Regions from separate parts of the Homo sapiens genome. Here region 2 is linked to region 1. Evidence: promoter capture Hi-C in 16 types of primary human blood cells and fetal thymus (Javierre and others, 2016). All regions are on one chromosome and are shown on one strand. Each heading gives the region's core, a stretch centred on a gene start or on the middle of the fragment in contact. The rest is flanking DNA. Distances are from core to core; before and after follow the strand shown. Region 1 holds the start of TRIM67-AS1 (TRIM67 antisense RNA 1). Region 2 has its middle 24 kb from the start of CAPN9-AS1.

What was found. Contacts are between HindIII fragments. The CHiCAGO score rates a contact against its expected background, and 5 or more counts as called.
Region 2: a fragment that was not itself captured here is called in contact with the fragment with the promoter of TRIM67-AS1 in region 1 in 1 of 17 cell types (erythroblasts); the score reaches 5.2 in erythroblasts.

The regions. Positions count from the first base shown.
Region 1 is chr1:231,184,282-231,190,911 of GRCh38, forward strand. It overlaps TRIM67-AS1 (TRIM67 antisense RNA 1), which reads right to left and starts at 3,346. Exons shown (of 3, transcript NR_166514.1): 1 at 3,236-3,346; 2 at 1,795-1,892; 3 at 1-955. All of the region lies in intron 1 of TRIM67 (tripartite motif containing 67), which reads left to right. RefSeq lists an enhancer at 1-62. The HindIII fragment of the contact is 278 bases long and covers 3,333-3,610 here.
Region 2 is chr1:230,815,886-230,822,515 of GRCh38, forward strand. It overlaps the pseudogene RNA5SP79. Among named protein-coding and RNA genes, the nearest start is that of CAPN9-AS1, 24 kb to the left of the region's middle. The HindIII fragment of the contact is 2,087 bases long and covers 1,431-3,517 here.

The DNA of each region.
Region 1 (6,630 bases), core at 2,096-4,595:
GATTTGCTGATGTTAAAGTTGACCACGGGTCACATTTCATTGGTCAGGTTCAGGTGGTAGAATGAGGACGTCGGCAGCAGTTGATTCTGGCAGTGTGAGCAGGAACAGACAGCTAAGAAGGCCCCAACATTGAGCTACTGTTCGGCTTGCACAGGGCATGTAGGGAACCTGCAGTAGGCAAATGGCTTTCAGCGCCACTCAGAATTCAGACCCGGATAGCCCCTCAGGATCCATCTCGAAGGGCTGGCTCTCTCAGGGTTCACACAGGCATGTGCCTACCCCTTGTCAGGGTGAAGGCAGTGGTACTGGAGTCCTAATTCCAGCCCTACCAGGCTGTGCTCAGTGGAGAAAAGGCAACTTCTCAAAGCAAAATTGGGATACTGTTATAGAGGATAATGGAAGGTCAACAGCAGAAAAACAATGGTCCCTGCAGCTGTCGGGGAAGCTCTCTCTGGGGTTCTCATTCTACCGAGAACCACCATGAGTAGAGTGCCAGTCCCTGAACCCAGGGCCTTCCATGCACACCATCATTAAACCTTGAGGCAGGCCTTTGGGGTGGGTATCATCACCCCAATTCACACGTGAGGACACGAAGTCTCACAGAGGGCAAGAAACTAGGTCACGTAAAATTAGGGTTTGAATTCAGGGCCCAACCCTGAAGCCCAGCTCTAAGGGTTGCTGGATAAACACCCAGCAGTGCTCCTGAATGGGTGGCCGGCAGGTTGGGGAGGGTCAGCTTATTCTGCTTGCAGGGCCTAGGCTAGTGTGGAGCTGAGCTGGTGCCTGGACTTCCAGAGAGCAGGGCACTTCGGTCACCATCTGCTGGCTCCTAAATCCGAGTTGCTGGCTCAATGGGAAGTGTGTGTTGTCCAGCCAGCCAGCCTGTACTCCACGGCGTCCATTCCTGCACCTTCCACCCTTCTCAGGATTCCCAGAGCCTTTATCTGAAAACTCCCTGTGAGAAAGGAGTCTCCCCTCACCCCTGGACCAGCTCTCCCTCCCACCCTCCTACACTGGAGGGATCTGAGAAAAGAAAAGGAAGGAAAGTCAGAAGGGAGAATGGCTCTTGTTTTCCTCATCTGAAGTGGGGAAGAATCTAAAACAACCCAAACAAGTGGAACCCAGGAGCTCCCACCACGGCGGGACCCCCAGGAAGTCTGTGTTCCAGCCCCCAGTGCAGGACCAGGGAGTGAGCCGGGATGAACAGGCAGCGAGGGGAGGCCACATCGAGAGTGAGAAGTGGGATCCCTAGTAGGAGACACAGAGGATGCCTTGGGCTGCAGCACTGGGACCTTTGCCTAGGGGAGCCCAGACGCGTCCTGCCCTTTTGCAGCTCCCCAGAGCACACAGCACGAAATCAGTGAATTCAGAAGACACTGTTGAGTGCCCGTTCTGCACAGGCTCTGTACTAGGGACACAAAGATGATTGAACGGCTCACTCTGGAAGTCCTGATCTAGTGAGGGACACGGTCAAGTAGATAAGTAACTAAGACCTCAGACAGATGATGGCGAGGGCCACAGTCGGAGGTAAGCGAGAGGTGATGGCAGAACAGAGATGAACCACAAAGTTCATGGAGTCTGGGGGGAAGACTTCGTGGAAAAGGAGGATTTGAGTTGGACGTGGGCAAGCTGAGCTAGGACTGGAGATGAGTGTGATAAACGGCCGTGACAGCCGGGACAAGGGCTCATAACTAGAGGAGACGAGAAGGAGGTGGGTCTTCTGGAAGATAGGTGCTTGGGTTGCAGATTTTCCCAGGGAAAAAGAAGGGGATGTTCCCCGTGAGCAGAACTCACCTCTCTCCTGATAGGCGGCTGGCAGTCGCTTGCTGAATGAATACATCGGTGAATGGATGAAGGGCTTGACAGCCAGGCTGAGGCGCTCCCTCTTTGTTCTGCATGAATCACAGCAGTGGAACTCTTGAGCCCAAAGGGCCAGAAGGAGAGACAAGAGTACATTCTGGCAAAAGCAGGATTTCTTCCTGAAGGAGGAGCACATCTCTAGTTGGAACAGGACAAATCGGGCCTGACCTGGATTCCTGGTTTCAGCAGCGCATCCGTGGACCTCCTTTTAGTCCCTCTGTATTCTTTGCTAGGGTTGCCAGAGCAAAGTACCACAAACTGGGTGGCTTAGAACCACAGAAATATATCGTCTCACTGTTCTGGAAGCCAGAAGACTGAAATCAGGGTGTCGGCAGGGCTATGCTGCCCCTGAGGGCTCTGGGAAGGACCTGCTCCGGCCTCTCTCCCAGCTCCTTGTAGATCCTTGGCAGCATAACTCCAATCTTCACGTGGTGCTTTCCCTAGCACCTGTCTGTCTCTATGTCCAAATCTCCCCTCTTCATAAGGACACCAGTCCTGCTGGATTAGGGCCCACCCTAATGACCTCATTCTAACTGAATCATCTCTTCAAGTACAGTCACATTCTGAGGTGCTGGGGGTTAGGACTTCAATGTCTAAATTTTGGGGGACACAATTCAGTCCGTCGCCCTTCCCCTGAGGCTGGTCCAGGATACAGGCTTGCATTGAGCAGTATCTCCAACCATTTGAAAATGCCAGGCAGCCTTCCCCAGCCCAGCACCCCAGAGGCCTAAAATGAAAGCTTGGATGATGGGAAGGTGCTTCTCAGGCTGTCTGGGCAGCTTTCATCTTCCTGCTAGAGGAAGGGGACTGCTTTACCCGCACATCCCACGACATCCACGGCTGCCTCATCAGCAAGGCTAATGAGGATGCCCATCTCACAAGCATATGGATCTCGACCAGGAGATCAATCTAAGTCTAAAAACAGAAAGCTGAAAGCTTCCCAGGCAATGGTGTGACCAGGAAGTCGTAGCTGTGTTGTTGGATCCCTCTTTATATTTCACCTGGGAAGACAGCGTTTAAGAAGATGAAGGAAAATAGCCACATTTAAGCAACAAGGGGCAAGAAAGAAGATGCAGGGAAAAGACCTGCCTCTGTTGGCCCCAGGCTCCCCAAGTGGGGAGTAGGATTTCGGGATAAAAGGAGAAGGAGATCATCTGCCTGGCGGAGGAGTGTGCCTCAGTGGTATCCGTGCCTCCCTCAGGTGGTGCTTAGAAGTCAATTTCTCTGCTTACCCAGGAGCCTCTACCTTTTAATTTTTTTAAAAAATGAGTCATTTACATTTCTCATTTATTTCTACTGTTCTGCCAACAGATGAGGGCATTTTTAACTTATTAGGCATTATTATCAGCCACAGGTTAAAAAAAAAAAACAATACCTTAGCACTGAGGGGCAGATAAAAAGGTGAGAGAAATCCCCTGTGGTCCATTTCACAACCTCCTTTGTGCCCAATGATGGTGTGAAACTCTCAGTGAAGCTTCGATTCCTGTTTTAATACACGCCCCATCTCTACTGTCTCCCAAGTGGGGCATCAAACTGCAGGAGGCGGAGTGGGAGAGGCGGGGTGGGAAAGGCGGGCAGAAGGAAGCCACGTGGCTGGGTAGCCAGAGGGACAGCGGGCAAGCTCTCTCTGATCCACGCCAGGCACAAAGGAGCTGCTGTAGTGCTTCTGGAGAGAGACCCAGGCAGGCAGATGCTTGGTTAGGCTGTGGGAACAAGAAAGTAGCTCAGCACTCCAGACGCCTAAGATGAAAGCTTGGCTGATGGGAAGTGACAGGAGTGAATCTATGGGATCTCCCTTCCTAGAGAAAAGCAAGTCCTGTTCTTTCGTGTTCTCTCCCAGAGGAGAGCTGCCTGCACTTCCCTGCCCTGCCAATCCATTTTTGCTTCCCATGCTCTCCCACTCTCACAGAGACATCTTTGTGAGAGCGTGATCTATGACTGTGTCCACATAATCCCTTCCACCCCTCCATCACACTGGGACCCGTGTTACATGGCACCATATTGCTATTCAAGGCAGTCTTGGTTGCTTCTGCCTCCCCCAGACACCTTGCTCTGTGTGGGACAGGAGCAGGAGGAGGTGGTGGTCAGTGTCATCCTCCCACATGTGTCCCCTGCAGTGCAGGGACAAAGCCCAGACTGATGGCAACGTTGCTTTATCAACATTCGCAAAGTGGCTGTGGAGGCTTCCTACACAGCTGCACATTTGAAATCCTAATGAGCTGGAGAGTGGAGCTTGGGTCTGATGAAACCATCATTGGCAGACAGGCAACCCTGCCCAAGCACACAGAATGCCAGGGACAAGGGTCCCCTGGAGAATAAAGATGCAGCTGGAAGATGGTGGGTGGTCTCAGCCCAGCAGCCCTGCCTCCGAGGGATTTTAATGGGAAATTAGGTTTTGTCCTCCTTCCACGTTGGTTGAACATCCAAAGTGCAGTGCAATGGAGTGCAAAGAGCATCGACTTTGGATTCAGAAAAATCTGGGTTTGAGTCCTGGCCACACTACTTACTAGCTGTGTGACTTTGAGCAAATTACTTCCCCTCTCGAGCCCATGCTCCCTTCTGTAAAATGGTGTTAATATGGCACCTCCTTGCTAGGTTATGAGGAATCAGATAAATTCGGCATGTAAAGAGCTCAGCACTTAGCAAGCTGTCGGTTGTTATTCTTATTGCTATTAATGGGAAGTCACCAGTTGCTACTGATCCTGTCCCACCTCAGGAGAGGAGAGGCCATCAAGTCCAGGTTGTGACTGGGTTCGGGCAGTCAGACCTTTGTCCTGTGGCACAAAAATGACATTGTTCTCCACAAGATCCACTTTTCTGGCCTCAGCGGGTGGATCTGTGTCTGGTGGATGTTGGTTCTGTGATGGATCTTGTCCTGAGAACTGCCTCATGGGCCCAGTACAAAGCTGACGATCCAGGTAGAAACAGACCCTCAATCAGGCACCATTTATAGTGGGTCCTGTGTACTAGCCTCCGGGCTCTGAGCTGGGGATGCGACACTGGATAAATCCAACGTGACTTCATTGAGTGCACAGTCCTCTGAGCAGCAGACATTGAACAGTTCTGTGGCCACATGTGAAATGAGGTTTTTAAAAATGATAAATTTAATTGCCAGTCATAGCAGGCTCAATGATGGCCTCCAAGGACGACATCCATATCTTTATTCCTGGAACCCATGTAAGGTGAATGTTACCTTACATGGCGAAAGAGCTTTGCAAATGTGATAAATGTGATGAAGTTAAGCATCTTGAGATGGGGAGATTATCCTGCTTTAACCTCACAATCATTGTGGGTCCAATGTCACCAGAAAGGTTCTTGTAAGAGGGAGATAGGAGGATCAGAGTTAGTCATAGGAGATGAGGATGGAAGCAAGATGTCTTAGTCTTCAGGATGCTATAACAAAATACCATAGACAGGGGGGTTGATAAACAAAAGGAATGTACTTCTCACAGTTCTGGAGGCTAGGAAGTCCAAGATCAGTGCCTAGCAGATTTGGTGCCTGGCAGGACGTTTTCTTGATTCATAGATGGCATCTTCTCACTCTGGGGCCTCACTCTGGGGCCTGTTTTATAAGGGTTCTAATCCCCTTCATGAGGGCTCCACCCTCATGACCTCACCACCTCCCAAAGTCCCCACTGCTGATACCACCTCTCCTGGGGTTAGGATTCAACATATGAATCTGGGGGAGATGCAAGCATTCAGACCATAGCACATGAAGTTGAACGATGCCAGGAAGGGGCCGCAAGCCAAGGAATGTGGGTGACCTCTAGAAGCCAGAAAAGGCACAGAAGAGGATTCTCCCTTAGAGCCTCCAGAAGGAACCAGCCCTGCCCATACCTTGATTTTAGGCTTGTAAGACACATTTTGGACTTCTGACCTCTAGAACCATAAAATGATAAATTTGTGTTGATCTAGGCTACGAGGCTTATGGCAACTTGTCACAGCAGCAATAAGAAACTAATGTCCCATAGGAACCCATGACAGAGTGAGCCTGGGGATTCAGGGAAAGGCAGATCCTCCCAGAGAGTTCTCTTCTTTTGCAACAGCCCTAGATGAAGGCAGTGGTGGCGCCTTCAAAGAGATCTAGTCTGTGTTGACAGAGTCGTGGCAGCAGGCTCCATGTAGGGGTTCTGAGAATTGGATGTGGCTTGAAGCACTGAACAGAACATTGGATCAGCATCTGGAGAGCCCCATTCCAGTCCCAGCTCTCCTCCTTACTGGCTTAGCGACACAAACACAGGGAGCTGCAGGGACAGGAGCTGATCTTCTGAGCTGCTTTGCCTCAGGGGATCTCCCCCCAGCTCTGGGCCACAGCCACTGCAGAGAGAGGCTGCCTGGATCAACCCCTGGCTCCTAGTTCTTCTACCAATGACCCCTTCTGTTTCTGGGGGGTCACCTTCAGCCTGCGGCCCCCGGCGTAACATACCAGGGGCTGCCACCCAGCATTGCTCCCTTCGTAGCCAATGCTGAGCTGGCTCCTCCCTAAGTGGACATCTACCCAGGGGCGTCCCTCTCCCCTGTGCCCTTACCATCAATCCCTCATGCTGCATGGAGCAAAGTCTCTGTGGCCTGGATCCTCAGGGCGGGGGACTGGATCCTGGGAGCGGACTGGGAGCGGGGAAGCCGGTGGGGTTGGGGAATCCGGGAGGTCTGGCTGCCACTATTTCATGGGAGAAGGGTCTGCCCAAGTCTCCCTCTCAGGACCCTCCTTTGTCCTATTCTTTCCCCACTTCCAGGGTCTCCACGTGCTCACCTCCTCCCTCTCTCATC
Region 2 (6,630 bases), core at 1,224-3,723, 370 kb before region 1:
TCTCAGTCTCCTTTTAAGCCTCTTACTGTCATGGCCTCACAAAGAGCAGCTATAAAACAGAAATGGGTTTTGCATAGAACCAGCCTCAGTGCTACAGTGCAGAGTATATGTGGGTGAGTGTGGAGCTGAGAGGTTAGCACCTAAGACTGACAAACTCTGTACCTAGGTGGTGCTGAAAGTGCATAGAACACATGCATGACCTCTCCATGTAGATACAGATCTGTGGAGTAGCTATTCACCCAGGGAAGAGAGAACTTGAGGCTGCAGGGAGGCCAGAATATCCTCTCTAGTATGTCTCCATGTGGGAAGAGAGTGTGTTAGTCCTTCTACCACTGAGCCAAGACAAAACCTTCCTTCCCTTGCACAATGGCACTGGGCCAAGTAATGGTGACAATTGCTGAGGACAGTGGTTACACAAAGACTTTTGGAATCTGAGAAAGCAAAGATGCAATTTGTGCCATGACTATAGGTTGTCTAGAGGTAACATGTAATGTGTTTTTAGTAAAAAGTTATTTCCCATAGAAAAGTATATATGCATGCAATTAATTGTAATGATGAAATTCTTGATACAACTCTTATAGGAAAGACCAGAGGTAATGCAAATTTTATACTTACACGCTGCACAGAATAAATCTTTCTAAAGAATATGTAATTCAGATTAATGAGTAGTCAATCACCTTAGCCATTTTTTCTAACTATAAAGTTTTTTTTCTCTAAATTAACTTCTGCATTTTTCCACAAAAATCAGAAGGTTCTTTTGGAACTGTACAACACAAAGAGTGAACTCAAATGTAAATGATGGATTTCAGTTGATAGTAATGTGTCAATATTGGTTCATCAATTGCAATAAATATACCACATCAGTGTTAATATGTGTGTGTGTGTGTGTGTGTGTGTGTGCGCGCGCTTGCATGAGTGTGTGTGTGTTAGTGATAGGAGAAACTGTGGAGGAAGAGAGGGGGAAAATGGGATATATGAGACCCGTCTCTGCTTGCTGTTCAATTTTTCTGTACAACTAAAACTGTAACTTTGTTCTGATTACTTTTAAATTGAAATCCATTTCCTTAAAAATCACTATCACTGTTTTCTCATGCCTTTGACTTCTTATCATGGCCCCTTGATCAGGACTGTCCAGAGAGCTCACGCCTCCCTTTGTTCATGAAGGTGGGCGTGTTCATCACTGGTGGGTGTGCTCATCACAGGGTGGTTTCTGAGACTGAGGAGCCATCAGCCTTCAAACTTCCTTTGCTTCAACCTCTAGCTTCAGTTGGCTGGTGGCTATTTTCACTTCAGCAAGAACTTCACTAGATTTGTAGATCTTTGGAAATCAAGACCAAGCTTGAGTAGAATATTTTTCCAGACATCTCTGAGGTTGAATTTGCAACCTCCTGCAAAGAGTTGTCAGTGTTCTCTGAATCCTGGGTTTTGAAAGCTTCCCGGTTTCATGTTTGTCTATGATTTTTACAACATGGTTCTGGAAGCTCTTGCAAACATAAATTTTTAAATGGACACAACTTTCGGACTTCCATGTTCATGTCTGCATTGTCCAGTTTTAGCAAGAACCCTGCTAAGTCAGTTTAACTAGATTGTCCACACTCAATATCTGATCGCCATCGATATCTGATCAGGTTCCTCGTCTTCCACCATTTGCCAGGTGATGTCTGATCACCCTGGCCTGCCTTCAGCAAGAATCCTGTTGGGTTGGTTTAGCCAGAATCCCCCTCAGCCCTAATGCTTCCTCTTACTAATTTTCCATCCAGTGACCTCTCCCTCCACTCTACTCCTTGGCTATAAATTCTCACTTTTCCTTGTTGTATTCAGAGTTGAGCCCAGTCTCTCTCCCCAGCTGCAGAACACCACTGCTGTGATCCTTACACCTATGTCGATGATCCTGAATAAAGTCTCCCTTACCATCTTTTTTTTCTTTTTCTTTTTCTTTTTTTTTTTTTTTTTTTTTTTTTGAGATGGAGTCTCGCTCTGTCGCCAGCTGGAGTGCAGTGGCGTAATCTCGGCTCACTGCAACCTCCTCCTCCCAGGTTCAAGTGATTCCCCTGCCTCAGCCTCCCAAGTAGCTGGGATTACAGGTTCGTGCCACCATGTCCAGCTAATTTTTGTATTTTTAGGAAAGACGGGGTTTCACCATGTTGGGCAGGATGGTCTCCATCTCTTCACCTTGCGATCTGCCCGCCTCGGCCTCCCAAAGTGCTGGGATTACAGGCATGAACCACCGCGCCTGGCCTCCTTCGCCATCTTTAATAAATGTCATGATTTTTGTTTATTTAACATTATTTTCTATTCCTGCCCCTCCCACCCTACACACGCTTACACCCCAGAGTCTCCCCTGTCTAACTATTTTTGGAAGAGGCAGTACAGGATCATCTGCCATACAGTCTCCCTCTCAGCCCCTGCTCCTAAGTCACAGGGCATTGATGTTCTAGACTAAAGTTTTTCTGAAATGAAACCACAGCCACACACTGCCCAATGTGTTTTTATTACCATAGTGTGGAAAGAAATATATAGAGATTCATTGAGGAGCATATAGGAACTGGAGAAACACATGGAATCACCATGCATGAAATCACTTCGAAGGAAGCTGCAAGACATTATGTGCCTATTAAATAATGGAAAATGGAATGTGCATTTTAAAAATAAGCCTTTCACCAAGACAAATGAGATCATCTTCTTGGAAAGAACTCAGCCAGGCATGGAAGAAATCCCACCATCCTTGTTCATGCCTTTGCATCTGAGGATGTGAAGAGGTCAGAGGCCAAGGCTTCTCACATGCATTCACCAGGGGTGTGGGGTTGATACTACTTTTGGTTCTCAGAGAGGATGAAAGAGAAGCACAGAGAATTTTGTTTCTCAAACTGCCTCTCTCACCCTCTTCTCGTGTCTGAAGTATCTAGACACTGCCCTTAATTGTGCCCGGGAACATGTGGCCCAGACAAATGAAAACCAATCAGTGCTTCATTTCCTCACTTTATAAATTCAGGAATTCTAATGTTGTCTTTGAAAGAAGGTAGAACAGGCGCAGAGAGAGGAATACTTACTCATGTCCATACAACCTTCTGGAGGAACAGTGGTGGGCCAGCCTAAAGCCCGATAGAAGAGAAAGAATGGTAGGAGCCATGAAAAGGAAGGATGAAGCAAAGATGGCTGATGTGACCATGGGACAGAGAGAGAAAACGGTCCCACTAACACAAGTGAGTAAACTGGAGGCAGGTGTGGTGGCACAAGCCTGTAACCCCAGCTACTCCGGAGGCTGGGAGGATCATGTGAGTCCAGGAGCTGAAGACCAGCCTGGGCAACATTGTGAGACCTTGTCTCAAAACCAAAAACAAAATCGGTCATTGTGACCAGGAGTATATTTCAGTTTGAGATTTGAGATCGTTGTGGAATATCAACATAAAAACATCCTGACAGAAAATTAGAGTGTGGGAGTGGATTCTTCGTGAGATTTTGGAGGTGGTGATTTGAATTTAAAAGGTGCCAATTCAGGTAAGTCATTTAAAAGCCAAGCTTTCATAAGAAAGCAAGTGTGAAAAGAGAACACCTAAAGGTATAGAGCCTTACAGAAGCCTGGCATTAGGACATAGAAAAATGAAGAATTTTTAAAAATAGTAATAAAAAAGTAACATGCAACTCCAAAAAAATGATAATAATAATAGTAAAATAAAGGAGATGTCAGAGACGTTATGAGATGTATCACGCAGCCCAGAGTTTTGTTGGCATGGGCTAGAGAGAGATTTGAACTCTGGCCTGTTTGAATCTGAAGTCCATGCTTTTCCCACCACTACTTCTAAAACAAAAACACATCCCCTCAACCCAAACCCTCCCTCTTCTTGGGCTCCAAAGGCTTCCAGAAGTGCAGTTACCTTCTAGGTCTTCAGAAAAGGAGTTTGATTCAAGGCTACAGAGAGGAGATGGAGAGGGCCGATAGCTAAGACCCAGAGAGAAGCCAACTCTGCAGTGGAGTGAAGCAGATACCCTGGCCTAGAGCCACACCACTGAAAGGTGGTGCAACCTGGGTCTCTCTGAGACTGAAGGCCAAGTTCTATCCATGGTCCTATACTGCTGGGAAGAGAATGTTCTGAAGAAGAGATACCTGCTTGTTACTGAAAAGTCAGAGAGGCTTCAGATGCTGATGAATGGCTTGAATGTGCCCAAAGGTTAACAGTGGCTTTCAAAAGTACAGATATGGACGGGTAAGGTTGCAGGGGAGAACAGCTGTTATAAATGGCTCCATCAAGCATCTTGACCACAGGGACCATGAGCTTGGTCTATTGGGGGCTAAATGGGCCCTGGAATGAGGCAAGGCATTTGATTACAGAGGCACAAAGACAGCTGTTTAAAAGTGGAGCACAGTCTACGGCCATACCACCTTGAATGCACCTGATCTTGTCAGCTACGCAGGGTCTGGCCTGGTTAGTACTAGGGTGGGAGACCACATGGGAATACCGGATGCTGCAGGCTTTAAAAAAATGCATAATGAGCTCCTTGAGACTGAGTTTAAGATGAGAGGAAACATTCAATTAAATCCACTACCACTGAGGGTCTCCTATGAGCCAGGCACGGTGATAAATTAAATGCTGGAGACACAGCCATGAGTTTGATGCAGTTCCTGCTACTAGGAGCTGCAGCATGGTGGAGGTGGAATGAGGCAGCTGCAGGAACAGACCTCTGTCATAGAGGAGTGAGTGCTCCTGGTGCCATCTGTGGCAGATTGATTGCATGTGGCCCTACCCTTCTCCTGGCCTGTGCCATAGTCCCTGTCCTATCACTTTGGAGTGCCTCCCCTCTGACTCTGGGACCAGCCTTGGGATTTGCTTTGTGTCGGCCAATGGGACACAACTGGAGGATTGAAAAAGCTCGTTCTCGTTCTCAACCACTTCCATGAGAACACAGCAGTCTAACTTGACCAGAGTACAAGAGGGACACACAGTTCATTCACCCTGATAGCCCTGTGCCAGCTGATTGCAGACACATGACCGAGTCTGAGTCCAGAACAGTTCTGCTGAGACCCCCAATCCTTGGCCCATGGACCTAGGAGCTAAATAGATGCCTATTGTTCTAAGCCATGGAATTCTGATGTTGTTTTGAGGCAGGGTTGTGTGGCAATAGATAACTGATACACTATTTGAAGAGAAGGGAGCATTGTTTCAGTTTACTTTGGGGTGTTGGGGATGACAAAAAAAAGAGTAAAAAAACAAAAGAGAAGGGATTCAAGGCTACACAGGGAAGAACCTGGGGCAGCAGAGCCCCCATACATTTGCATAAATAAGGAAAAGAGTACATAGCATGTAAGGCAGGGCAGGAGGTAAAGTAGGGGAGCTCAGGCATGAGGCTGGCAGGCAGGTGGCTTTTTGGGGTTAATGGGGAGAAGCCATCCTCATGGATGGGAGAGAGAAGCTGAAGAGGCTGCATGGAGGACCAGATTTGAACAGATAGCACTGTGTCCAAAGGTGGCCCCAATAAAGCAGCTGTTGTTCTTGGAGCCAGGCCTTTCTCCTGCTTCCTGTGTGACCCTCCCAAGAGCCCAAGAGTCGGAAGCATCATCACACCCACGTTGCAGATGAAGAAAGTGTACCATGAGAAGCAAGGCAGCTTGCCCAAGTCACCCAGTGCAGGCATGACAGAGAGCACCAGAGCAGGAGAGGAGGGCCCAGGCCGGTCTGGAGCATCCATTTCTAGAGGAAAGGTGAGAGGAAAGTCCTAGAGAGGGGATGCTGAGGGTGGTATGGGGGCTTAGGAAGGACACGAGTGACCACCTGCCATGGAAAGTGAGGCTAGGCTTTCCTAAGAAACAGATCAGGGCCACACCTCTCTCCAGCTCTGCTCAGCAGCCAGGAGGCAGGAGCAGGCGGACAGTAGGAGAGTCAGGGTGTGAAATATTCACACTAAGCTTTAGCAGGAGACCCCGGCAGCCAAGGGATTTCAGATGGGAGGAAAGACATAGATGGGGAAGAAAAGAAACCAGGAAATCCAGGAGAGGATGGAGGGCCTGGCAATTGAAAGAAGGTGGACCAAGGGTCTCAGAAGAGCCAAGTGGGTGTGGGGGAGGGGATGAAGTCTTGAACAAGGAGGATGTGGGCAGAGGGGACTTCTGCACCACGGGACGCTTATAAGGCCCCTGCCCACTACCTATACTGTCCAAGTCACAGGAGGCTTGTCATGGCAAACTGTACAGCTGTCTACAAATACCAGGGATAATGACTCCCCAGCATCCCACTCCTGGGACCAGGTGACGGCAGGCATCAAGACACTGGCAATTTGTCTTTTCAAGATCGTTGCAAGATCTTTTGCAATGATGGAAATGGGAAAATCCATCCAAGACATAATTACGTCCATGTGGTGGAAAAGCACTCATTCCATTTATTTTCCTCTGAAACTTGACTCCTCCTTCCGTGACTCGGCCAGGGCCAAGCCAGCCGGATGGAAAAGCCAGTGTCAGTGATGTGGAGGTCGTTCATGGCACAGGGCTTAGGGGCCTGGATGTTCTGGGAAAACCCTGCTCGTTCATCTCGTCCAGGGAAAATATTGCCTCTGTCCACAGGAAGAGCTGGGTTCCGGCAGCTGGGGAGGCCACTTGCAGCTGACAGGGTATTAACTCTGACGCCTTTGGGTGGGAAA